7 separate regions of the Homo sapiens genome follow, and regions 1, 2, 4, 5, 6 and 7 are each linked to region 3. The links are contacts of gene promoters, found by promoter capture Hi-C in blood cells and fetal thymus (Javierre and others, 2016). All regions are on one chromosome and are shown on one strand. The core of a region is centred on a gene start or on the middle of the fragment in contact, and the rest is flanking DNA. Distances in the headings are between cores, read along the strand shown.

The links. Contacts are between HindIII fragments. The CHiCAGO score rates a contact against its expected background, and 5 or more counts as called.
Region 1: a fragment that was not itself captured here is called in contact with the fragment with the promoter of PKD1L1-AS1 in region 3 in 2 of 17 cell types (naive B cells and total B cells); the score reaches 8.1 in naive B cells.
Region 2: a contact is called between a fragment that was not itself captured here and the fragment with the promoter of PKD1L1-AS1 in region 3, in 1 of 17 cell types (M1 macrophages). The highest score is 5.3, in M1 macrophages.
Region 4: a fragment that was not itself captured here is called in contact with the fragment with the promoter of PKD1L1-AS1 in region 3 in 2 of 17 cell types (naive B cells and total B cells); the score reaches 6.1 in naive B cells.
Region 5: a contact is called between a fragment that was not itself captured here and the fragment with the promoter of PKD1L1-AS1 in region 3, in 1 of 17 cell types (naive B cells). The highest score is 7.3, in naive B cells.
Region 6: a contact is called between a fragment that was not itself captured here and the fragment with the promoter of PKD1L1-AS1 in region 3, in 4 of 17 cell types (total B cells, M0 macrophages, M2 macrophages and 1 more). The highest score is 14.7, in total B cells.
Region 7: a fragment that was not itself captured here is called in contact with the fragment with the promoter of PKD1L1-AS1 in region 3 in 7 of 17 cell types (total B cells, naive B cells, M0 macrophages and 4 more); the score reaches 12.2 in total B cells.

Annotation. Positions count from the first base shown.
Region 1 is chr7:47,359,196-47,362,796 of GRCh38, reverse strand. The region is part of intron 17 of TNS3 (tensin 3); the gene reads left to right. LOC124901629 (a long non-coding RNA gene) reads left to right here and starts at 1,592. Exons shown (of 2, transcript XR_007060319.1): 1 at 1,592-3,601. The HindIII fragment of the contact is 1,625 bases long and covers 1,117-2,741 here.
Region 2 is chr7:48,158,638-48,162,159 of GRCh38, reverse strand. No RefSeq gene overlaps it. Among named protein-coding and RNA genes, the nearest start is that of ABCA13, 11 kb to the left of the region's middle. The HindIII fragment of the contact is 3,313 bases long and covers 1-2,959 here.
Region 3 is chr7:47,793,952-47,797,791 of GRCh38, reverse strand. It overlaps PKD1L1-AS1 (PKD1L1 antisense RNA 1), which reads right to left and starts at 2,501. Exons shown (of 4, transcript NR_161269.1): 1 at 2,349-2,501. PKD1L1 (polycystin 1 like 1, transient receptor potential channel interacting) reads left to right here. Exons shown (of 57, transcript NM_138295.5): 55 at 1,642-1,803. The HindIII fragment of the contact is 8,231 bases long and covers 438-3,840 here.
Region 4 is chr7:47,320,468-47,324,441 of GRCh38, reverse strand. The region is part of intron 20 of TNS3 (tensin 3); the gene reads left to right. Among named protein-coding and RNA genes, the nearest start is that of SNORD151, 140 kb to the left of the region's middle. The HindIII fragment of the contact is 420 bases long and covers 2,515-2,934 here.
Region 5 is chr7:47,376,146-47,379,756 of GRCh38, reverse strand. The region is part of intron 16 of TNS3 (tensin 3); the gene reads left to right. Among named protein-coding and RNA genes, the nearest start is that of SNORD151, 87 kb to the left of the region's middle. RefSeq lists an enhancer at 1-151. The HindIII fragment of the contact is 9,574 bases long and covers 1-3,611 here.
Region 6 is chr7:47,393,294-47,397,196 of GRCh38, reverse strand. TNS3 (tensin 3) reads left to right here. Exons shown (of 31, transcript NM_022748.12): 16 at 293-397. Among named protein-coding and RNA genes, the nearest start is that of SNORD151, 70 kb to the left of the region's middle. The HindIII fragment of the contact is 2,611 bases long and covers 1,323-3,903 here.
Region 7 is chr7:47,291,863-47,295,553 of GRCh38, reverse strand. It overlaps TNS3 (tensin 3), which reads left to right. Exons shown (of 31, transcript NM_022748.12): 25 at 1,726-1,821; 26 at 2,649-2,726; 27 at 3,522-3,599. Among named protein-coding and RNA genes, the nearest start is that of SNORD151, 170 kb to the left of the region's middle. RefSeq lists an enhancer at 1,292-2,491. The HindIII fragment of the contact is 2,934 bases long and covers 806-3,691 here.

The DNA of each region.
Region 1 (3,601 bases), core at 680-3,179, 430 kb after region 3:
GGTGGTGATGATGCTTTGGTGATAGTGATGATGACGGTGATGACTGTGATGATAGTGATGATGTTTATGGTGGTGTTAGTGATGGTGATGTTGATGATGTTGGTAATAGTAAGAACTGTTACTCTGAGTGCCTACACTGTTTTAGGTACCTTCATTTCACCAGGACACGTAACAGAGCTCTCGTCTCTCTGACTCTGCACCCCATGGCTATGTCCTAATTCCACTAAACTCACACTCTTACACCAGCCAGTAAACCTGTTGAGGGAAGTGCTCATTATTTTTTTTCCCTGGCATGCAGGAAGAGTTCGACATATGTTTGCAAATACAGGGGTCTGGGACAGGCGGAACTGCAAATGATCCTTTTGAGACCTGAACTACTCTGCTGAATGGGCACTGAGGGGAGATTTATCGCTGGACAGTGTAGAGTAGCCCTGCCCACCTACAAGATCAGAGAGAGGCCCTCCAGAGGTGGGGTATCACAAAGCTCTGGTGGCTGAGACCTGGGTGCTCTGTGTGCCAGTGAGCACAGTTTTGTATCCTTCTTGTAGAATGGGTGAGATTCAGGGAGTTGGTTTGGGGACATTTTACTCCCCACAAGTGCCTGCCAGCCATGAGGCCCTGCTCCCTCACTCTGGTCTGACTTCTGCTGCCACTGGTGTTTTGTGGAAGAGCCCCTGGGTGCTGCTGCCAGGCTCATTGTCCCCGCCCCACTCTGGGTCTCAGCCTGGTTTCAGCCTGCACGTGGTGGGTTTTTTGTATCATACCCTTTTAAGTGGGAGAATATTTCAACTGATGATATCCCAGTAACAAAAGAAATGACTCAACCTGTGAAATTCATGATTCCGTGGGTGGCAAAAAGCCAGTTCTGTGGTTTTTTTTCATACCTTGAGGGCTCTTTGCTTCATGTTGTCAAAATATTTTATTCATGTTACATCAACCTCCACCCTGTGATGACAGCAACCTGGCAGGCCCTGTTCTGCTTGCAGATAGTGCTGTGGCATTCCCACCAGGCATTTAATGTCCCTCCCAGACTCGGCATCTGCTCTGTTAGTGCTAACCCATGGCTGATAACCTGTGCATCCTAAAGAAAGTTCAGAGCAATGGAAACTGTAAGCTTTTAATAATTGACCATGGAGAGCCCGTTGATTTAAATTGTGTGCTAAACCCCAACCAAAGGAACCAAATGTGAAAGCTGGAAGAGCGCTTTAGGATTCAGAAAGCAGCTTATCTGCAAGCTCTGATTCCGTGGCAGAAGGCTCACAGCCTCACAAAGTGGAGACAGGCAGACAGTCCCACCTCATTTCAACTCCAGAGTTGGGGAACGTGCTGGGGGTGCTCAGCCAGAGCCTCTCAGCCAGGCCTTGTGAGGCAGAGGGATCCTTACCAGGCAGATGGTCTGGAGGAGAGGCAGACCGGGAGAAAGCATAGTGTGCCAGGGAAGTTCAGTGCTGGGGAGTGAGGCTGGAGATGCAGATAGGCCCCACCATGGAGGGCCAGGATGGGGGCCAAGGAGTGTGGCTCTTCCCTGAGGGCAGAGGCGAGCCTTGGGGTCTTGGGCTGGGCCCTTGCTTGTTTTTTTTTTTTTTTTTTGGCATGGTTACTGTCTTACCAGAAGAGAAGGCACTGAGAAGGTGCACTGAGCCTGGGAGCTCTATTAGGGTCCCAGAGACAATGGAGGATAGCATTTAGGCAGGATGGGGGTTCCATGGGGTGGCATTGGCCTCCAACTCTGCAGAGGAAGAATCTCAGGAGGGAGGGAGGGAAGTAAGCAAGTGGGCCCCAGCGCCTGCGCCCGTAGCAGCTGGACATTGGAAGAATGAAGGGGCCTTGAATTTGGCTATTAGTGATCTGGGTATGGGGGTTTCAGATCCGTGCTAGGGACACAGGGGATCCATGGTACTTTCTAAAAGTCCAGGTGTCGTTATTTCCGTACTGTGTGTTATAACTGAGCAGTGCCCAGTTATGGGCATCATCCTGCCAGTGCCGGGCCCTCAGAGCATGGGGGAAGACAGCAGCGTGCGCATCTGAGGTGGAGGATGGAGGAGTGACCGCAGCACCAGGCATAGACACTCCTGGAGCCCTCCAAGGACTCAGGCGTCAGCAAGAGACCAGGGCTGATGGCAGCACCTCTGCCTTTTGGGGGCTGTCTCTGGATGGTCTCAGTCAGCCCAGGGTCACCTTTATTCTGAGATGCTTCCCTTGGCCACCACCCCCTCCAGGGAGCTGAGTGAGGTCCTAGGACCCAGGTCTTATAAAGGGACTTCCTGGTACTCACATCAGAGAACCAGGATAGAGGAGGTCTGGGAGCCAAGGAGCCAGGGCCCCGGGCGCTGGACATGCGTCCGTGAGGGACTCTTGCTCTTTGTTTGCTACCACTGGCAAAACAAGGCTTTTTCTCCATCTGTGAGCTTCAGTCTCTGGAGGTTTCTGAGAGAGATGGGATATTTATGTGCCTTGAGAACTCTGAAAAGAGACTCCTGCCCAGGGGTCAGGACTAGACACAGCTCCTCTCCACCTTCAGACCCCGATGCTTTAGGGCCGTGGGTATGAACAGGTCATGTGTATGTGAGTGCACATTTAATAACCGAGTCAGCCCACTGCACTGCAGGGAGCTCTGTGGGTGTCCAATTCGGAAAACGTTTTAGAATGAGAAACTCCAGTCTGCTTGGGGAAACTGCCATTGCAATTACTTTCTTTTTATTGCATAAAACCAACTTTGAAATTTTAGAGTTGATGAAGCTTTCCATTTGCCCCAGATACTCTCACTCTGCAAAGCAGGGGGCCTTGGTTTCCCACCCTACCACCTTGGTGGGCGCTCTGAAGACACTGCTGAGAGGCTAGGGCCACAGAGGAGAAGGTGCTATCTGGGCCTTCTGGGACTTTGAGGTGTGGATTCCAGCCCACCTTCTGCTCAGTCCACACTGCCCGTGATAGCTACATCAAGGGACCTTCACTGGTTCAGGCCCAAAATGAAGTATCGTTTCTATAACAGATACCTTCTAGCGCCATCTTTACTCTTCTGAGATGAAAGTCATAGCGAATATAACCTCCTTAAGCACATACTGAAAACTAAATTTAACACCCTAACACTCATGTCAAAGGAAAAATAAAAAGAAAGTAATTCACAATAAAGTCATATGAATTTTGAGATGAAAATCTTTGGTCCGGCCCACAGTAGAAAACAGAAATCATCCCTCAGGTTTAAAAAATACTCATTAATTTTTTATTGTGGTGAAATACATGTAACATAAAATTTAGCATTTTAATCATTTTTAAGTGTACTGTTCAGTGGTAGTAAGGACATTTGCATTGCTGTGCAACCATCATGACTATCTAGTTTCAGAAATTTGTCGTCATCCCAAAGGGAAACCTTATACCCCCTGAAGTCACTTCCTGTCCACACCTCCCTGCCAAACCCCTGGCACTCACTCATCCCCTCCTGTCCCTGGGGATGTGCCTACTGTGGACATTTTACATAAATGGCATCACAAAGTATGTGCTTTTTGTGGCTGGCTCCTGTGACGTGGTGTGTGATGTTTTCGAGCCGGACGTGTTACAGCCCATGTGGGAACTTCAGTACTGCTCCTGGCAGAGTAATATT
Region 2 (3,522 bases), core at 54-2,553, 370 kb before region 3:
CACTATCTCTGAGTAGACAGTGTCAGAACTAAATTAAAGGACACTTAGCTGCTGTCTTCTCCTTGGTGTTTGGGAAAAAAAATACCCACACATTTGGTCACAGAAGTCTTCTGTGTTGATCACTAATGTGGTGTGAGAGTGGAGGGAACATGCAGTTTGAGAAAAGTTTTTCTCTACACAATTGGTGAGTGAAGTGGGATTTATTGGAATGGCACTGACTCATGGAAACATGTGGCTTGGGAAGAGAAAGGATAAAAGAGTGGGGGATGAGGAATATTTGATTCCTGGGTAGCCAGGTGGTCACCCATGTTATAAAGCCACAGCTATGTTGAGATCAATTACTAAAGGTGAAAGTTACCAATGGAATTTAGAGATGGATCCTACTCTCCAGGAATTGTTTCTTTGGATACATAAGGAAATGCAAACTAATAAGGAAAAAAAAAATATTCAATCTTTTGGTGACTGTTATCTATAATGGCTAAAATGAAAGTAAAAGAGGGTGCTGAGTCAGAACTTGAAGCTGGATCAAACTCAGATGTGGTCCATCTGAGCTCAGGATTCTAGCCTCAAAGTCAACAACAAAGGAAAATATTATGCAGGAACAACAGAAAGTACCTCTGAGACTTGTGGTTACCAAGAAAATAATCAATATGAAGGAAGGGCGAACCAACTAACTATTGAAACCAAATGGTATAGTGTGAAGGAATTGTTCCATTTTGTAGATCAGTAATATCAGCTTCCTGAGACATCTTTACTAAAATGGATTACAAGAGTGACCAATTTAGGGGCAGTATCTTTGGTTTTAAATGTTACAGAGCAGAAAAGCATACATTTGGATTGATGTGGGACCCACATCTCAACACTGAGCAACTGCAGACAGTTTTATATGATCCAGACACATAGGAGGTTATTCCTGAGGGAGCAACCAGGCAGCCTGGCAGACTAGATAAAAGACACTGTAAGTTCTGTTTACCCCAAGAAGGGGGATGCAGAATTTCTCCACAGATACAGCTCTTCCCAAGAAGGACAGCTTTTCTGCTACTCTTGTATTTCCAGTCCCTCAGAATAGCTATCTCTAAATATTTCCAAATATATATATATATATATATATATATATATATATATGAAATATTTTGGTTTCCTTCACAAGCAAAATAGTATCTAAGCCATGAGGCAGAGGTGACCAATGTCCCTTAGGATGGCACTCTCCTCACACAGTGCTGAGCCGCTGCCCAGGGCGATGCTCAGCAAGGGACTTCCTAGCCCCCTTGCACTGGGCCAAGTGGCTCACTCTTGCCACTGAAGGTGAGGGGAATACCGTTGTCACTTCCAAGTCCAGGCCCTCAGTGTCAGTCAATGTTCTCCTCTCTCCATTAGAGGCCCTAGGGGATGGCAGAACAAGATTGAAGCAGCCTGGGCCCTGGAACCCCACATGTGTCAAAACCCCCTGAGCAAAGAGCATCTGGTGGGCTCCTTGGTGAGCAGAAACAAGCAGCCCTGAGCTGAGCCAGTTGTGTGTGGGTGTTAGTGAGTTAAAGCGGCCAGTGTGGCAGAGTTCTCTAGAGAAATTCTCTTCCCTGTCTCCTCTCCTCCACCCTCCATCCTTCCCCCTGCACTTCCCTTCCCTGTCAGGGCTCCAGCCTGCATAAGTGACCCTGAGTTGCAGCAGTTCCATCTCCTGCCCTTGTTCCTCCAGCCTGGAGCCCCCATTGGCCATTTGTTACCCTAATTGCCGATTTCTGAGTCACTTCACCATTGCCTCCCTGGCTTCTTGGCTCTTCCATCACCTATAGAAGTTTTCTACATTAAAATTTATCTCTTTATAATATGCAACATTAACTTGTATTTTTCTTGTTGATCCTGTTGATACATAGTCCACCAAATGGTTCATAAAAACCAGCTTCTAGGGGAATGGCTGAGTCAGGATTTGAGGCCGGCCTGCCATGGTCATCAGGAAGGAGCATCTGCCTCTCTCTCTCTCTCTGTCTCTCTGTCTCTCTTATCTCACTAAGATGCCTCACTGATACAAGTGGCTGAAAGAGAACAGAATTTGTCCATAGAGAATCCTGGGAGCCCTGCTTTCTGTCCTTCCCTTTCTCTGTAAATAACCATCTCAACTATCCACCTCCCCTTTAGCACAGCTTAGAGGCAGGAAGGCCAGCAGGAAGAAGGCTATCACAACTGTCCAAGGAGAAGGGAATAAGGGCCTTTGGCAGGGGCTGAGACATGGAAAAAGTACAAAGGAATTAATGATGACATAATTCAAAGAAGGAGAGAAGGAGGAGAAGCCAAGGGTAGTGAAAAAGTGGAGGTGGGAGGTTTGGGGAATAGTAAGTAGCTGGATTTCCAAGGGAAGTCAGGTTCTGGCACTGGAATCATCCAGGTGGGAGTTCCAGGTCCAACCTGCAGTTAATGACCAGCGTGACCTTGGCCATCCACAGCTTTATCGTTTCAATCAGTACAACATGAAGAGAACACCATGGATGAAATGTGACTAAATACTTAATACAACCCTCATTCTCCTAATGCTACCTGCTCCCAGATTCTTCCATCCCAAGACTGACTCACTTCTTGCCATCTTCCCTGATGTCAGCCACCTGCCTCAGCAACCACCTCTTCCACAACTCTCTACTCAGTGGATGATGTGCAAAGAGGAAAGCATTAAAAGTCCATATGCAGCCATGACAATCAAAGGAGAAAGCCACGAAAGCAAGGTCATCAGTCTCTCTTCTACTATAATGCACAAAAGCGAAGGTTTGCTAGTTCAACGGTGATTAGGAAATGAGACATTTACTATGAAACCTATATCACAAGAAGAGTCCAAGAAGGGAAGGAGGGTGTTATGGACTGAATTGCCTTCCCCAAAAAATTTAATGTTGAAGCCCTAACCCCCAATGTGACTGTATTTGCATATGGAGCCTTTAGGGAAGTCAATAAAGTTAAATGAGATCATAAAGCTTAGTCTTACCTAATTTGATAAGACTGGTGTCCTTACAGGAAAAGAAGAGAGAGCAGGAGTGGACACACACAGAGGAAAGGCTATGTGAGGACATAGCTAGAAGGTGGCCAGCTATAAGTCAGGAGGAGAGGCCTCACCAGGAACCAACCTTAGTGGCACCTTGAGTTTGGGCTTCTGGCTTCCAGAACTGTGAGAAAATAGTTTTCTCTTGTTTAAGCTGCCCAGTTTGCGGTATTTTGTTATGGCAGCCCTAGCGGACTAACACAAAGGGGTTAAAAAGGGGATGTGCAACCTAAACTTGCATTTGGGTGCCTGAAGATGAGTCTTACTAAGGAATTTAAGGTTGATGCTCACACCTTACCTAGATCAGGGAATTCCTTTGACCCTGAAAGGCGCTGAGAAAACCATGGAGTTAGCAGAAAAGTCTTTATATGAAAGGATCCAGAGGATGGAACTTTTTGGAAATCATGTCTAAAGCTGAATTTCCCTCAGAGGAGAACCGGTCCCTCTATACTCACTACAGAATCACAAATTATCTGTGTAGGACAGACCGCATGCCTCAT
Region 3 (3,840 bases), core at 1,252-3,751:
CTTCATACAACAGGAGAGTGAGCCTTGATGAGCAGTTCCACTCATGGTGATGACTGCTGAGAGCAGCATTTTAGACAGGGGGCATGCAGGGAGGGCCATGCTGGAGTTCTGGGTCAAGTGGGCATTATGTTGAAAAGGATGGTTGGAGTCAGGAATGGAGGGCCTTGAATGTCGTGCTTAGGCACCTGGATGCTATCTTCTGAGACAGGCAGGCAATATTGCATTGAGGTCTCTGGGTGGAAGAGTCAGGTCTTGCTGTCTGCCATGGGTGTGTTGCTGGTAAATCCAGGAGGCCTCAGACCTACACACCAATGGCCTACCCTTTCAGGCTCCTGAGCATCTTTGCAGAGTTCTGAAATTTTGTGAGGGGTTCGAGGGATTTGGGGACCAATCAAGAACAAACATATGACCACAAGAGATGATAACACACACAAGCTTTATCTGGGTAATGTTTTGAAGTGTTTCCATGTGGGGGAACTCCCTCATACTTCATGCTATGAAACTGTCCACAGGTTTACAGCGTAGGGGCCAAGAACCATCCAAAAAGGAAGAAGAGCAAGGGCGATCTCAGGGGAGAGGGGCAGCAGAGAGAGAGCTTACCCCTTAGACGATGCTGCTTAGCAGCATGGAGGGGAGGCTCTGGGTCAGAAAGCTCCTGAAGCCAGCAGCAGCTTGGGGCCTTATAACATTATCAGTGGGTAACAGCTGTCCCCTGAGGTTTTGCAGGGTGTGTAAAGCTGACAGGCTCTAAATGGCTAAAATGTTTGTTTGGGTGTTTTTTTTTTTTTTTTTGAGACGGAGTCTTGCTCTGTCGCCCAGGCTGGAGTGCAGTGGCGCAATCTCTGCTCACTGCAAGCTCCGCCTCCCGGATTCACGCCATTCTTCTGCCTCAGCCTCCCGAGTAGCTGGGACTACAGGTGCCCACCACCACACCCAGCTAATTTTTTTTTTTTTTTTTTTTGTAATTTAGGAGAGACAGGGTTTCACCATGTTAGCCAGGATGGTTTCAATCTCCTGACCTCATGATCCGCCTGCCTTGGCCTCCCAAAGTGCTGGGATTACAGGCATGAGCCACTGCGCCCAGCCCTGTTTGGGTTATTTTTTAAACAATTGGATGTGTAAAAATTCGAGTTTGTTACCAGTAGGCTTTTGAGCTAACAGCTTACAGCCTGCAGTGAAGAAATAAACCACCTGGAGGCTTATAGAGCACATGTTGAGGGCACAACAACTTGCTGAGCCCAAGACCCTTTCTGGTCTCCCAGGCACAGGCACAGGCCTCTCTCCTGAGGCTCACCCACAGCTCAGAATGGTTCACCAGGGGACACTGAAACTGAGACACAGACTTTACATATGGGCATGCACATCGCGTTGATAATCTCAGTCTCCAAAGTTAGATACTGAAAACAACCTTTATAATACAATGAATTTCCATTGCTGAGATCATCTTACTGCCATTTAGTTCAATTCAGGAGAGGTATTTTCCTGATTTTGCTTTTTTTCACCAAGAAATCACTATTTTACCAAAAGCTCGTAAAGTAGCATCATCAGATATAATCTCCATTGCATAGTTTATCACGTTAACAAAGCTCTTTATTTAGGCTGCTAACATGAAATTTGTCTTTATTTTTTTCTTTTTCCTAGCTGAGAGGTTTTCTCATGACTTTACCCCAAAAAAGAAAATCTTTTCAAAGTAAATCTTTTGTGAGACTTAAAGATGTCACTGCTTATATGTGGGAAAAGGTCCTCACCTTTCTGAGACTGGAAACACCAAAGTTGGAAGAGGCTGAGATGGTTGAGAATCACGTAAGCTGTGAGATCTTGGATTACTGAGCATGATAGCACACACTCAAGATGATGGTTTCATTGCAGAATTTTGCTTTCAGTTATCAAAGCATGAGTATGTTTCCATGCCAAATCTCCTTGCAAAGCCACAAAATTAGTCTCAATCATAGTGGAACTCATGGAATTTTCCCGTGCAATTCTAAAACACTTTACAGATTACCAAGCACATTCTCCTGCCTTAACTCACTATATCCTTATAGTGACCTGTACAGTTGGAAAGACAGAGTTTATGGTCTTCCCCAGGACACAGACATGCTGTATTCTGTCCCCTGAGTTAGTCATTTGCTTTTGGTGCCTGCTATCAAACCCAAACTTCTATCCAAAACATAGAGCCTTAGGTGCATTACTTGAGTTCAGTCACCCCAGACATGCATGTAAACAAATCAAACCAGGCGTTTGCACACTGAATACTCACTTTCTTCATGGCTGATATATTAGTTTGTTTTCATACTGCTGATAAAGACATACCCAAAACTGGGAACAAAAAGAAGTTTAATTGGACTTACATTTCCACATGACTTGGGAGGCCTCAGGTTCATGGTGGGAGGTGAAAGGCACTTCTTACATGGTGGTGGCAAGAGAAAAATGATCCAGATGCAAAAGTGGAAACCCATTATAAATGATCAGATCTTGTGAGACTTCTTCACTATCACAAGAATAGCATGAGAAAGACCAGCCCCTATGATTCAATTACCTCCCACTAGGTCCCTCCCACAACATGTGGGAATTCTGGGAGATATAATTCTAGTTGAGATTTGAATAGGGACACAGCCAAACAATATCATTCTGCTCCTGGCCCCCTCCAAATCTCATGTCCTCACATTTCAAAACCAATTATGCCTTCCCAAAAGTCCCCCAAAGTCTTAACTCATTTTAGCATTAACCCAAAAGTCCACAGTCCAAAGTGTCATCTGAGACAAGGCAAGTCCCTTCCACCTATGAGCCTGTAAAATAAAAAATAAGTTAGTTACTTCCTAGATACAATGGGGGTACAGGGATTGGGTAAATACAACTGTTCCAAATGGGAGAAATTGGCCAAAACCAAGGGGTTACAGGCCCCATACCAGTCCAAAATCCAACAGGTCAATCAAATTTTAAAGCTCCAAAATGATCTCCTTTGATTCCAGGGCTCACATGTAGGTGATGCTGATGCCAGAGGTGGGTTCCCATGGTCTTGGGCAGCTCTGCCCCTGTAGCTTTGCAGGGTACAGCCTCCTTCCTGGCTGCTTTCATGGGCTGGCATTGAGTGTCTGTGGCTTTTCCAGGTGCACAGTGCAAGTTGTCAGAGGATCCACCATTCTGGAGTCTGGAGGATGGTGGCCCTCTTCTCACAGCTCCACTAGGTCCCTTCCACACTGCCCTAGCAGTTCTCCATAAGGGCCCCGCCCCTGCAGAAAACTTTTGCCTGGGTATCCAGGCATTTCCATACATCTTCTGAAATCTAGGCTGAGGTTCCTAAACCTCAATTCTTGACTTCTGTGCACCCATAGGCTCAATACCACATGGAAGCTGCCAAGGCTTGGGGGTTCCACTCTCTGAAGCCCCAGCCCAAGTTGTACAATGGCCCCTTTCGGCCATGGCTGGAGCAACTGGGACACAGGGCACCAAGTCTCTAGGCTGCACACAGCACGGGGAACCTGGGCCCAGTCCACTAAACCACTTATTCCTCCTTGGCATCCAGGCCTATGATGGGAGAGGCTGCTGTGAAGGTCTCTGACATGACTTGGCGACATTTTCCCCATGGCCTTGGGGATTAACATTAGGCTGCTTGCTACTTATGCAAATTTCTGCAGCTGGCTTGAACTTCTCCCCAGAAAATGAGTTTTTCTTTTCCACTGCATTGTCAGGCTGCAAATTTCTTTAACTTTTATGTTCCATTTCCCATTTAAAACGGAATGCTTTTAACAGCACCCAAGTCACCTTTTGAATGCTTTGCTGCTTAGAAATTTCTTCTGCCAGATACCCTAAAAATCATCTCTCTCAAGTTCTAAGTTCCAC
Region 4 (3,974 bases), core at 1,475-3,974, 470 kb after region 3:
ATAAATGGAGAGAAAGCCATGTTTGTGGATAGGAAGACAATGTCACAAACATGTTGGACCCTCCCAATTTCATCTGTGTACTTAATTTAATTCCAGTCAGAGTGCCAGCAGATTATTTTGTGGAACTTGATAAGCTGATTCAAAATTTATATAATAAAGTAAAAATTCTCAGTAGCCAGTATACAACTACTAGAAATGAGGACTTACCACAAAGATAGAAAATTCGGTAAACATGAGCTGGTACAAGGACAGATAAATTGACCAACAAACAGATGAAAGTGCAAAACAGACCAGCACATGCTTGGAACTTTGGTGCCAGACAAAACAGGCAGCCAGGTCAGGAGGGGAAAGAGGAGCTGCCTCATAAATAGAGCTGAGGTTTGCCAGGTAGAAAAGGTTAATGGATCCCTTTTATAACACATGCCAACATCAGTTCCAGATGGACCAAGGATGTCAATGTCAAATAAATTCTTAGTAGAAAATCCGGGTGCATACGTTTTTCCGGATTTTTTCCTTCCTGTCTTCTGCTCTTCTGTTTCTCTTTTCCTGCCTTACTGTGGATTTATTTATCATTTAGGGGAAACTCTGTCTTTATTTATTGATAGTATTTTTGAGTATATCCCTCCCTGTAGTTTTTTTAGTCCTCGCTCTTGGTATATACATAACTTGTCATTATTTATGGCTACTTGTATTATTTTATCACTTGGAGCGTAGCATAGAAATCTTACTTCAATTTAAGTTTCTTCACCCTCCCCATTTTTAAAGTACAATTGTTGGAAGTATCTTATCCGTTTATGGTGAGTACCACATGTGATGATGTCTGCTAGTTGCTCCAACTATAAAAAGTGACTTAAGAAACTCATGAGAAGAATGGACTGTTATATTTACCCTTACTTTGACTCATTTGAACATTCTTCTTTCCTTTTGGAAGTTCCAAATCTTATGATTTTCATTCTGTTTAGAAAATTTCCTTTGGCCATTCCCTACTGGGACATTTGCAAACAACAAAATCTCTTCATTTTCCTTCATCTCTGGATTTCTTTATTTTTCCTTCATTCCTGAATGGTATTTCTGCAGGATATAGAATTCACAGTTGACAGTTCTTTTCTTTCAGTACCGGAAGCATGTGCCACTTCTTTCTGGCCTCTTTGGTTTGGGTTTCTTTTGAAGATTCGAAGATAGGTGGATTCTCAGAAAAGCTGTCATTTTATATGACACTAAGATAGGGAAAACAGTGCCAGGTAAAACAGGATGCACTGTGGGTGAAAAGGTATGCACAGATTTCAGAAATGTGGCTCCGTGAGAAAAAGCAACTGGGGACTGGGCACATGAGGCCTCGAGGAGCGGTACCTCCAGCCCTAGACTGGCTGCATGGTCGGCCCAGGGTGTGCAGAGCTGCAGGTGGGCTGGAGACGGGGTGCCTACCATGCAATGAATCCTCAGCAGGGGACCCCTCCCTGCTGGCCTCCTATGTAGGAAGCCCTGGTGATGTGACAGTGAATGAGACACAGCCTCACCTCTGACACGGTTCCAGCAGTGTGCTACTGGCCATGTGCCAGATAGAGCAGGGTCCGTGGCCACCGAGGGCCTCCGTAAGAGGGAATCAGGGAGCGGAGGCAGGCTGCTCTTGAGGGCTTTAGAGGGCTTCATGCCCCGGGTAGGGCTTCTGTGATTCTGCGGGGTCTCCAGTCCTTCCAGCTTGAGCACTGCACTCGACTCATGGTAAATATTATCAGCAACTTAGAATATTTAGGCACTCCCCTCAGTTTTATGTTCGTCATATACAGGCTTTCACAAACCATTTTCTTTTTTCTTTTTCTAATCATAACATTCCATTCCTAGGGTATGTTTGTTAATTTTCATTTCACTGGGTTGTTTTTTTGATTGTGTGTGTGTGTGTGTTTGTTTGTTTGTTTGTTTGATACGGAGTCTCACTCTGTCACCCAGGCTGGAGTGCAGTGGCGCGATCTTGGCTCACTGCAACCTCCGCCTCCCGGGTTCAAGCGATTCTCCTGCTTCATCCTCCTGAGTAGCTGGGATTACAGGCATGAACTACCACGCCCGGCTAATTTTTGTATTTTTAGTAGAGACGGGGTTTCACCATGTTGGTCAGGCTGGTCTTGAATTCCTGACCTCGTGATCCGCCTGCGTCAGTCTCCCAAAGTGCTGGGATTACAGGCGTGAGCCACTGCACCTGGCCTTTGCTTTTTTTTTTTTTTTTTTTTTTTGCCCGTTCTACTTCACTCTCATGTGCTTTCCCATTGGTTTGTGGTTTTGCTGTTGCATCAGCTTCCTTCTATAGGTCAAGGCTATGTAATGTACCCAGACCCTGGTCCTGGGGCTGAGGGACCAGTTCTGAGGGATGCTTGATGCTTTTACAGTTCTTTAGCCTTTAATCTTTTTGTAGAATGCCAATGAGACTCCTCCTTCCAGGACAGCTGGGAGGGTCGGGAAGTCCTCAGTGAATGTTCATCATCAGGAAAACCTTGGTGGATGATGGGCAGGAGGGAAGCTTCAGCAGTGGGTCCCCCTCCCTGAACTGCTGGTTAGAGAGAGGCTTGAGTGCTGTAGACAAGGAGGTCTTTTATATTGTGTTGTGCATTCTAAGTGGATGGTCTTTGGGGGAAGAAAACAATGTAGAGTAAAATCAGGACAATTTGGTCTATTTGAGCGAAGGTCTTTCTGAACTCCCAAGTGTTTGTTCCCTCCTTCCCCTCAGAGCACAATGGTTATTTCTTAAATTTATTTCCTATGAGACAGGAGTAATTATGGGCAGAGGGACAGATGAGAGCTTCAAGCATTGTCCAGTTCTGTCCCGGGACAGCCCTCTTGGAGAGAGAACCACCTGTGGCAGAGACTGTGGATTGCTGTAAATTATCTTATTAATTGGAACATCACTTGTTATATTGGAGCAATTATAGCATGTTCAAAGCTTTGCTGGAAGGCCCTCCAAATGCCGACACACCCTGCTGGCATTTCAGTAGTGCTGGTGGCCTCTGTATTCGTGAGTTTTGGACTCAGTGGAATGGAGCTGGGCTCCATAGCACCTTCGGGGTCCAGAAGCCAGTGGCATGGTGCATGACCGTGGAGACGCTGCCCATGAAGAACATAGAGCCAGCCTGAAGGAGAATGGTACCACCGAAAACCAGTGGGTTGAGAATGAGACCCTTGCATCAGCAAAGTGAGTAGCCTACCCATTAGGCATGGTATGAATCGGAAACCTTAGTGAAACAAAAACACAAAGAGAGGAGAATCGGGACCAAGAAGGAAGGCGGGTGAAGCCGCATCATCTCCCTCCTCGGGCTGGCTCAGGGCCCCATGAGATGCAGGTTTTCTGGCACAATTGGCTCCTCCTGGAGTCCTGCCTCAGGCTGGTCAGAATTCCCATGCTCCAAGAGTCAGAAGGGACACATTAGAAAGTCTGTGTGGTCTCCTCAAAAGCCACATGCCTCATGTCAGTTTTCATTTCTTCCTCGTCGCGATGGATCTTTCGAGTGCTTGCCAGGGGCCAGGCCCTGCTGTAAACACCTTTCATGCCCTAACTTGGCAGATTCCCTGAGAACTCTGAAGTAGGGCCTATGTCACTCTCCTGCCATTTATAGAGGGGCTGCATCTCCCCAAACCACACACAATTCGTGTTAGGCTGAATTGTGACTCCCTCCACCCCCTGCACATTCCTATGTTGAATGATGCCTTAACCCGAACCCCAGGATGTGAGTGTTTGGAGAAAGGGCCTTTACAGTGGTGACTGGTGAAAGTGGGTCCCTTAGGGTGAGCCCTCATCCAACATGACTTGTGTCCCTGTAGAAGGGGGCGATCAGGACACAGACACACAGAGGGAAGACCATGTGAGGACACAGGGAGAAGATGGCCATCTGTGCACCGCAGAGAGAAGCCTCGGGAGAAACCAGCCCTGCCAATGCCTTGATCTTGGACTTCCAGCTGCTAGACTGGGAGGGGATACATTTCTGTTG
Region 5 (3,611 bases), core at 785-3,284, 420 kb after region 3:
GTGATTTGGGTTTGGGGGCTTGGGAAGGAGTTAACTCTCAAGGTGAGACTGATGCACCAAGGGAGCAATGCCTTAGAATGGAGTTATTCTGCCTAAGGAGAGAAAGAGTTGTCCCTACAGAGTAGAGTTTATTACCGTCTTTTATTTTTTGTAAAAACAAAAATAAAAAAAGAGGAAAAGGGCACATTTCATCGCGTCTTGAAATATATCAAAATCATAGAGTATCTGATTTAGTAGATTAAAAGCAGTGTTCTCAAAGACCCAAGTGTAGTCCTCATTTCTTAGCTCTTGAATTTTCTGTGGAATAGAAAATGATTTAATAAAAACTCCAAAAATCATTAATTAGCAAAGAGTCAGAATTCTATTGTAATAAAATTAAAGCAGACCTTGTTTGAGTGAGAGGTTATACATGCTCTAATTATAAATGTCCACATGGAAAAAACGAGAGTGATTTTTGCATATGCTATGGGTAAGATAATACAACGCCCCTTGAGAAGGAACCTCTTGGCTCAGATATCGCTTCCTGACTGGGAAGGTCTTTCGGTGTCTGCAGCCCCTACCAGGCCTCCAGGGATCAGGTACCCTTGGGACACTGCCCGGGCTACCCGTACCTCCCCTCCTCGCAAATGTGAGAATGCCCCTTGCTTCATTGTTAACCCCATTCAACCCTGCCTTGTGCTCTGGGCCACAGCCTAGTTTTCAGCCCTCCTGGCTTGGTGATGGACTCTTCCATGCGCCGGAGCCTGAAATCCAGGCAGTCCCTTAGCACCTGTCCTCACCAGCACTGAAACCCCCACTGGCTGTTCCACATTGTGCAGCACCAGACCCATCAACTGAATGGTCTGCTGGAAAACTCACAAGTCCAGCGCCGGTGCCATGGCTCATGTGTCAGTTGACCTAGCAAATCCAGGAGAAATGTTCTCTCACTGCTGAGGGGAGGTCATGTGATGCAGTGATGGGAACCCTGGGTGTGCATGACACAATCTGCCAGAAAACCCTTAGCCCTCCCCCCATGAAACTTGGACATGCTTCGGTCCCTTGCAATCCCCCTAACCTTGTGGGTTAAGCAGAGGAGAATCCATACCCCTTCTGGGTTTGGTTTGAGCCTAATGAGACAATAGGTACGAAGTGCTTGGAAGACAGTGGTTGCCCAGTTAGCTTATTACTGCTGCTTTTGCCATCATTGCTGTCAGTCACCGAGGAAACAAACAAAGTATGGGATGGGAAAACTGTTTTACAGCTGGTAAGATCCTGAGCTGGGCAGCTTGGCCATAAAGTCGCACTGGGTGGATGGTTAGCAAAGTTGGTGCCTGGGACAATTTCAGTCATATCAAAAAATGACTTAGGGAACTTCTGAATACGTTTTTTTAAACCCATCTTTCACCATAGCTTTATATTAGAGAACAGTTCCTCAGTGTAATTCTCGAGACGGGAGGTCAGTGGACCTGCGTTCTGTGTACTCACTGATTAGATGTTCATGGAGCACTCCTCTGTCCCTCAGCTCTGCACCCAGAGGGTCCACACATGAATCACTTGTGAGTTCTGGGAATTCTTCACTTGACCAGAGAGGGGGAAAGCACAGAAAGGAGGGTTTGCCCAATGCCTGCTGTGTGCCATGCCTTTTGTGTTGAATCCCAGTGGTCCTGGGAGCTGATATCAGCAAACACCCCCTTCTCCAGGTTGCTTCTCTGCAGACAAGGACAGTGAGGCACAGAAAGGCGGAGTGATTCATCTGAAGTCACACAGCTATGATCAAGCCAGGACTCAAGCCTGGATTATGCCAGAACCTCTAGAAGGGGAGGGAAGGTGTGCACATGAATCACTCCAATGGAAATGTCAAAAGACGCTTTATGTGACAATGAGGCGCAAAGGGACTATGATCGTTATCCCAAGGAGAGAGGGTTTCCATTGTCTCATGGAATTTAGGAAGAGGAGGGAAGGCCTTTGAAGAGGGGGAGGAGGGCATGGGGGAGAAGGAGAAGGAGGGAGGGGAGGAGGGAGAAGAAGAGGAAAGGGAGGAGGAGAAGGAGGAGGAAAGGGAGGAGGGGGAAAAAGAGGAAGAGGGAAGGAAGGGAGGAGATCAAGAGGAGCCACCTCAGGTTGGGGTCTAGTCTGCTGTGAGTCTCATTTTTGTCTTGATCTCACAACGGTTGTTTTAACTGAGATGCAATTTACATGCAGTAAAATTTGCTCTGTTTAGTATATAGTAGTCTGAGTTTGACAAACATTATGCCATGACACTCCCACCACTATCAAGACGCAAATATTTCTATTGCCCAAACCATCCCTCACACCCTTTGCAGCCCCACTCTTCTCCTGGCCCCGACCACACCCATTTGTGTCCAGACACAGTGTCTCCACCCCAGAATGTCACCTATGTGGAGTCGTACAGTCGAGCCCTTTGAGTCTGGCAGTGTTCACTCGGCATAGTCCTTGAGACCCCTCCAGGAGACTGCCTGCAGATGAGCACTCGTTTTTGAAACCGAAGCCTCTCTGTCTTCAGCATTTTCCCTGGGCTGTGGTTGTCAGAGCCCACCATGGGCACTTGCAGCTGCAGACATCATTCCAATAAGCCTCCACTTATTGGGACTGTTTGGATATGGTGAATTGATTCAGCTGGACGGCCCCAAGTGAGTCATTTGAGGGTGACCTAGGGACAGGATGGTTCCTGGCTGTGTCTGGAGAAGCTACCTGTTCCCTGTGGTGGTCCAGGCACAGGCAGGACCTCTGGCATATCCATGGCTCCTGACCCCGATGGGGCTGCTGGTACCATGGGTGTGTGGGAGAACTGAAGACTCCATGCTAGGAACAGCACCCGATCCACTAACTGTGAGGATAGAAATGCACTAGCTTTAAGAAACGGAACAAAAACTGTGACCATCACTGCAGCGGCTGTGACACCACAAGGGTCTGTTCCTGATAATGAATAATTTTAGGAGTTAGGGAGGAAAGCACAAAGCACTTAATAGTCTCTGAAGAGTGAGTGAGGTGTATATGAGTTTGTGTGTGTGTGTGTGTGTGTGTGTGTGTCTTGATCTAGATAGTTGATCTGTGAAATATAAAAAGTGATTGACTAGGATTAGAATTTTATCTTTTTTTGGAGTGGAGGGAGGTTGGTTTAAATTTCAGATATTCTATTCAGTAGGCTTGTAAAAAAAATCGTTAATGTTAGTGCAGGCTCTCTCAGCCTCTGATTTCTCATCTGTAAAATGGACTTCCCGTTTCCTGCTTCACAGGATTGCTTTGGGAATTGAGTAGGATCCCTGGGGCCTAACAGTGTGCTGGGCGCATGGGAGGAGCTTGCACGGTGGCCTTGTCTTTAGGAGGTCAGCTGAGTTGTAAGAGAGGGGTGTTTCCAGAATTCTCTCTGTTTGTCAGGTGATGAAGATGCCAATTCCTGCAGCCTCACCTGGCTCACCTGAGGGTGGCTGCTTCAGCATCAGTGGATGCCTTTCTTCTCACACACTGCTCCGTCTTTCCCTTGCCTCTGTTGATCTGTCTATTCGGATGCCGTGAAATGTGCCCACCACCCTTTCCATCTCTTGTTTCTCTCTCTGTTCCCCAAGGGGGCTTGTCCATTCTCCAGCACATCATCAGGACTGGGCTGAGTA
Region 6 (3,903 bases), core at 1,379-3,878, 400 kb after region 3:
AGTGAGGTGGTCTGAAGACTCGTTTTGCAGAAGTGTCCAAGCCTGGTTCACAGTGGACGAAAGATCAGTGCTTACTTATCCCTTCCCCCTCGTGGCTTTAACTATGGTTCTAGTTGTGGAAAATCCTCCACAGTCTCTGATTAGTGTTGTGGCTCCTGGCAGGAGGGTGGAGGATGGAGAGGCTTCTCTCTCCTGCTCAAGTCAGGCTGCTCACCTGTCCTTATGGTGGAGTCGGTTGGATGGAGGTGATGGGTTTCACTGGGACTAATGTTGCTGCCTGTGCTCTGTGCAGGGTCCGAACACTTGTACAACGACCACGGTGTGATTGTGGACTACAACACAACAGACCCACTGATACGCTGGGACTCGTACGAGAACCTCAGTGCAGATGGAGAAGGTGCGTGTGTTCATCTTGTGTGCAGTTATGGAGGCAAAGGGCACAGGGAAGACAGCCCACTCAAATATCTGAAGTATTTTGCAGTCTGCTAAGAAGAAAAAATTTCCCCTGTTTTCTCAGAGGTCCAGAATCACACCTTCGTGTGACACAGTTGTGAGTTTTGAGGGTCTTCGTGAGAATAAGGCATGGTGAGTTTGGGTCAGGGCTTTTTGTGAAGCTGTAACGGGTGGATGAGCTGTCAGTGAAGTTATATCCAGGAGCTCCTTGGCCTGAACTTGTGTGTATGTATAATGCCAGGGACCGTTCCCCCTTCTTCCGTCCCTTCCGTTTTGCATATGGGGATGCCAAGCGCTGGCCACAGCCAAACTAGCTACTGTTGTACGGCCCCACATGCAACAGACATCTTGTTTTAATTTCTGTTTGCTTGTTAGTCTAGTGTTCCTGATTTATGGCTGTATCATTTAAATCTCTGTTTTCGTGAAACCGTCTCACCCAAACATGTCCTCTGTTCACCTGTGTAATATGCACATTGGGTCATAGCTAGGAGCGTGAAGGAGGAAAGGAAGGAAGGGGCAGCTGTGTGCTGGAATCTCCACAAGACACAACTGGAGGCTGATTTCAAAGGAGGGGAATTGAGGCTTTTCCTAGCATGTCATGCTGATCCCTTGTCTTTTTCAACCACCGATTGAGAATCAGACTTGCTTTGGGAAAGAAATTAAAACACTTTTTGTCAGATTAGTTACATCCAGATGTAAAATAGCTAAAAGCAAGTGTTGTGGAAAGAACTGCAGTAGCGCCTCATCTTTGTGGATCGCTGAGCTTCCCATGACTCCAGGAAGGGGGTGTCTGTGGTTAGTGAGAAAGGACACCAATTGTGTGTCCCAGGGCAGCACATGGCTCCTCTCTGTTGTCCTGGGGAAAAGCTTGCTCCTTCATAGGCCTTGTGGGATGGAATTTCAACTCAAGGAATTGTTGCAACCCAAATACACCTAGACCAGAGGTGGAGACCCACAGATGGAATGTTGATGGTAAGGACATTAAAACACAGATGATATCTGGGGCTAGTGGGCAAGTTGTGGACGGGGAGAGCTTTGCTCTGGCCTGTAAAGTAAACAGAGTGTTCTTTGCTGGTGTGAATTATTCAGCACACCAGTCCTTCCAGATAACCAGCACGTTAAAAGAAATGTAGCTGAAAACTCTTGCAAAATGATACATTGTCTTTCAAAAGATCACAGTGCACACTGGAATCTTAAAGCTGTGAGAATAATTTCATAAGATTTATCAAACAACAGTTATCAAACTTTTTGATCACAGAGCTCTTTTTCCAGTAACGTCTGTTTGCATCTGCATAGCTATATTCTGTCCATCACATGGTGATGTTTTCCACTGGAGGAGAGAAGGGTGAAGCGGTGGCTGGTGAAGTGTGTAAATAATCATCGCAAGGCAAGATGGGGAAAGGGGCTAATTTGGAGAGCTGGATGGGGACTCTGAGGACAGCTGACTTAGCATCCTAAATTCCAGGCTGAGGCGAGTGGATTTTACCAGAGAGGTCCCTTGCTGCATGGGAGCCAGTGAGCAGCGCTCTGTCCTGAGGTGATGAATCAGTGGCTGTGCCGAGTCTCATGGAGAACAGGGAGGCGAGTTGTGGAAAGGTCATTCTCGTGATGCTGGGAGGTTCCTTGCTTGCCAAGGGAGGGGCGAGCCTGGAGGGTTATTGACCATGAGGGAGGCAGGGGTTCTAAAACACAGGTGGGTGTTCTCTGTGCCAATGCCGTAAGAGGGGAGCAGTGAAGTCCGGTGGACAGTGTGGAGGAGCCCCAGCTCCTGTGAGGAGCATGCTCTGGAGGGCAGCTCTGTGCTCAGTCCCTCATTGGGTGCCCCGCTCTTGTCCCCAAGCTGGCTCCCAGCTAAGCCTGTGACCTGCCTGCGGGGCAGGCTTTATCCTTCCCATGTCACAACCAGGGAACTGAAAGCTGGGCGCCTGCAGCATGTCACTCACAGGTGGTGAAGGACCTACGTTGATTTTATGTAGAAAACATATAGACAGAAAATCAGTTGAGTGTTCACCATCCTTTAGGGGTTACATGAAACTTTACGGAGAATCTGTGGAATTATGTGTGTGAGCGTGTGTGTATAGATCCATACATGTGGAGGACTTGCCGTTATCACTGGGTGAAATAGACAGAATTCAGTCTTAAAGACTCTCAGCCACCGCAGTGTCTCCTGAAGATGCAGAGGGAGATACTTCTTTACTTTGAGGCCCTCTCAGCCCATTCACGCTGCCTTGACAGATGACCATAACCTGGGTGTCTTAAACAACAAGCGTGTATTTCTCCTACTTTGAGAGGCTGGGAAGTCCAAGATCAGGCAGCCAGCCTGGCGGATTCTGGTGAGGGCTGTCATCTGGTTGCCAACTCCTGCCTTCTTGTGTCTCCACGTGGTGGTGAGGAGAGGGAGCTCCTTGGAGCCTCCTTTCTGAGGGCATCAATCCCACTTATAGGGGTTCCACCCTTATGCTCTGAGCACCGCCAAAGGTCCTGCCTCCTAATACCATCACTCTGGGGATTAGGTTTTGACATATGAATCTTAGGGGACACAAATATTCAGTCCATAGCAGATACTCAATGCGTGTTTCTTGAATGAATGATTAGAGAAGCAATTTGAACTTTAAATATCTAAGGCCCTGACATTACAAATCACAATTCCCATTGGTGTATTTTTCATGCAGCATCTTCTGAGCCAGTGGTGTGAGCAGGTGGGAGACTGCTATGGATTGTGTGGTTGGAGGTGGTGGAGCCATGCAGGTGATGGTCTGGGCATGCACTCGGGACTCTGTGTCACCGAGAGTTGGGTCTAGGGGCGAGTAGAGAAGGTCTGGCATTGCCATGCAAAAGATGGAGCCAGTTGGGAGTGGGTGCATAGGAGTTCTGGAAAGAAACTGAGAAGGACAGGGCAGAGTGGGAAGGACACCCGGGAAAGAGTGGTTCCCAGACAGGAGGGTGAGGAGTCGGATAGGGCGCCAAGGCAGCCAGGTACACTTTGCAGCCAGATTCACAGCTTTGTCATTACTGCTTCCAGGCTTCATAAAGCAGCAGAGACCCCCTTTATGGGCAGAGTCATGCCCAGACTCCTCAGGGATATAGTGGGTGAGAGTGCAGCCTCCTCCCAGTGCCTGGTTCATCCCTTGCAGCCTCGATGATATCTGAAGCCCATGAGCACCCCCAGGGAGGTGGAGTGACAGGGGAGGACTCAGAGCGAGCTCAGGACTGGTATCCGGATGCTTAGCCCAGAACCCGCCACACGGAATCTGAGTCCTCTCCCAAAACTGGATCTCAGCAACCTTCCCTTGAACCACTGCCTGAGTATTCTTGAGAATTCCAGCTCCTGAGTTACAGACAAGCACGGAGCCTTTCCTCAAATCTGCATCCCCTCCTCCTGACCCTCCATCCCCACGTGCTGTCTGGCGTGTCTGGGGTACCTGATTCAATGGAATGAGTTTTATGCTT
Region 7 (3,691 bases), core at 1,023-3,522, 500 kb after region 3:
AATTCCAGCATAAGAAGCCCAACACGATGCTATTTCTGAGTGGAGATAAGGGCTTTTGTAGCTGGAGAGCTGAATTAGACCTGATTGTTGAGGACTGAAACTGAATAATGATGATGGCAGGAAAGAGGGTCGCAGGACCAAGAGCATCTGGCGAGTCTGCAGAGATGAGAGATTATTGGGAGAGGAGGAATGATGGATGGTTTTGGTTGGCTCCTTCGTTTCCGTGTAAAGTTTTAAAGCAAGGACAAATAACATTTCTGCATGCATTATCTTTTTGGAATCTAGATGAGAGTATATAACTGTTTTTACCTCTGTGCGTGCATCCTGCCTCTCTGACAGACTTTGGACTCAATCTTAAGATGAAAGGAACAAAATAGGGGATATTAGAATAGCAGACTTGAGGAAACCGAGTGTTGTTGGTGGCCTCTGGGTGAAATCTTATCTGACTGCTGTGTCTTCATCTTGTCCCTGGATTTGACATTCAGATTTCACAATCCAAGGATAGATTTGAGCAAAGAGTTTACCAGGTCATAAAGAGCCACAACCATTCACCATACCACCTCCAGTAAACTGGAGATGGGACAGCTAGGGACGTTCTGGATGCTGTTCTCCAGAGAGCCCTGGCCAGAAGGACTTCCCACTGAGCCATTTCTCACAAGTGGAATCCAGACCCACGCTTGGTGTCCCCTTCAGTTTGGAAGCCAGGCGTCATTTTCTTCCCACAACTGAATGTCAATATGTTCTTATCCCACTTTAATTCAACACAGCCTTTTATGGAATCTGATCATTTCCTTTTCTGCAAGCTTTACTGCCCTTGTGAAATGCTGACACAGTGATATTTGTCATGTTTATAAACATCTTTTGGAAGCCTACTGTGGGCAAGGCACTGGGGACCAAGCCCAACTCCAGTGGATCTTGCTGCCAGGAGGTTTCCAACACCAGAAATATTAGAAGTTTAGGCAGACATGCCCCAATGGAGGGTGATGAAGGAAGCACTGGATCCCAGAAATACAGCACACTGTGAAGGTCTGTTGGACTCATTAGCATAGGGCAGTGACTTCTTGTTCTTTTGGTTGTGCTGTTTGTACTTTTCCACTCTCAGATAGTTTTGCCATTCAGTGGCTTTTTATGATGTGTTTTCTCTTTGGACTCATGGGCTGGCCTAAAGCAGATGCACTGTTTACTGTTAATAGCAATGTGGTAGAGTGCTGCTCCCGTGCAGCTGAGTGCTTGCTTTCTGGAAGGTTTTAAAGATCCAGGCTCCTGGTTAAATCCCACCCAGAAGACTGACCTCCTTCCAGCTCTTTTCAGTGATTCATTATAGGTATCATTTTGTGTCTGAGCCTTTCTCACCTCTCCTCTTTGGGAGAGGATTCAGCTGGAGATTCATGATCCTCTTTCTTAGCTGCAAGCTCATTCCCTTCGTTGGGGATTCTTGCACAATGTTTGAGGGCCTCTCCCAAGGGACCTCTCCAGCCCCCACACTGTCATTGCAAGGGTTCCCGCCCTGTATCTGGCCTAGCCTGTGCTCATCCAGCTGTCCTGCAGCCCGGCTACCATTCCTAGGACGAAGATGGTTCTTGGCAGCCTCTTTTGCAGTGACTGGACTCGTATTCAGAGAAGAGCCTTTTCAACTGTAGCTCCTGGCTTTTATGTTCTCTCTATTGAATTCTCCCATGCTCCCATTTTCAAAAAATTCTTCTTTCTTTAAATTTCTTGCCACAGCTGGAGATTTGGCCAATGAACTCGTCCGGCACTTTTTGATCGAGTGTACCCCGAAGGGAGTGCGGTTGAAAGGGTGCTCGAATGAACCATATTTCGGTGAGTTGCTTGAGAGGTTGCTGTCAATGTTCTGAACTCATGAGGCCTGGATTCCCTCTGCTCACCAACCTGAGATTTGGGACTATCACTCTTATGGTGGTTTACTCATATTTCAGTCCCCAGTTCTGAAATCCTGCTGATCTGCATTATTATCTTTAAGATAAACTAGATTTGAAGTTGTTCTTAAAAGCTCTGTCAAAACCAAACAAATGAAAAGCACCATATCAGACGTAGGAATTACAGACGTCAATAAGATTCTATCCTAGTTGGCAGGCAGGTAAGTCCTGAGAAGGTTGGAGCTCCAGCATGACCCTATCCCACAGCACAAGGAACAACATAGAGCTCCCAACAGAGCACCCTCCCTTCCCTGCAAATTGGGAGCCTTCCCTACCTCACGAGCTTGTTGGAAAGATGACTTGAGCAATCCACACAAAGCACAGTGCAGCCTTAGGCATCATTGTTATTAGAGCTTTGTTAAGAAGCATTGTGCAGGGGTAATATATATGGTTGAAGTTGGAGTTGGCTTGATGTCAACCCTCCTGATTCAAGATCCAACAAACTGTATGCTTTAGTCTTTATATAATTTGGTAATGATGTGTCTATGATAAGAATGATAAACAGTTCCATTTACTTACCTCTCAACTATCTTGTGGAACTTTATACTTCTTTGAAGTTTTACACAAAGCTGCACACTAATCTAACATACCAGTTGCTAAAAAGATAAGGGCTCAGCCTTTGCATCCGTTTCATTCCAGCTGATAAATTGGCTGAGCACACAACATCTACAGCAGTTGTTGACTCTTGTTTGCTGTCTGTCCACTTTGCAGGGAGCCTGACGGCCTTGGTGTGCCAGCATTCCATCACGCCCTTGGCCTTGCCGTGCAAGCTGCTTATCCCAGAGAGAGGTAAGGGGTCCTCAGTGCTAGTCAGGCTCTGTGTAGATTGTCTGCAGTCAAGGCCACCGGTTTTAGAGATCCATGAAGATCCACTGAGAAAAATAATAAGACTGGAAGTTTTTTCGTATTCTCTTGGTTGAACCCAAGAAAAGGCCAATGAGTTCATCCAAATTAAGGAGAGAAGAGGAGATTCTACTTCACTGACAGCTCCCAGATAGCTTTACATCATGGATTTTGATGAAAGATTTCTATAGAGCAAAGATTCTGTAGTTTAAAAATATAAAACCCTCAGACAAAGAAGGCTTCAGGGTCATTGACATTTAATTTTTACGTTTCTACGGAATGGGCAAAATGTTGATGTTGTTGAACTTAGATGATGGATGCACTGTTCTTTTTACTTTTATGTTTGTTAAACAATATCCATAATGAAATTAAATAACACCCACAGCATGTCAGGGCGATGTGACCGTATGTCCCACTTTCCTAAGCAGTCACAACTTCACATAAAAATGGTCTAACTTAATATATAGGTAAATGTGATTTACTTTTCAAAGTGTCATTGTTCATATGACTAATTCGGTGATTAGAAAAATATTTTGTTAGGCCTTGTCATCTCTACTTTTATTCAGAATGTGATCATGGTTTCTATGGGCCAAATTATTGTCCCAAAGAGAAACTCTTGACTCTGCAAAACCATTGCATGTCACCATCTGGGAATTCTGTCATCAAATTGTCTAACTTTGTCATGAGGATTCTTGGTCAGGAGCAGGACTCATTTCTGTATTTTCTTGCCCCTTCCTACAGATCCATTGGAGGAAATAGCAGAAAGTTCTCCCCAGACGGCAGCCAATTCAGCAGCTGAGCTGTTGAAGCAGGGGGCAGGTCAGTAAATGCAGCTCCATTTCTACATCTGGTGACTGGGGAGAAAAAGGACTCACTGACACAACTTCCTTTTGCACTTCAGTATTCAGGTT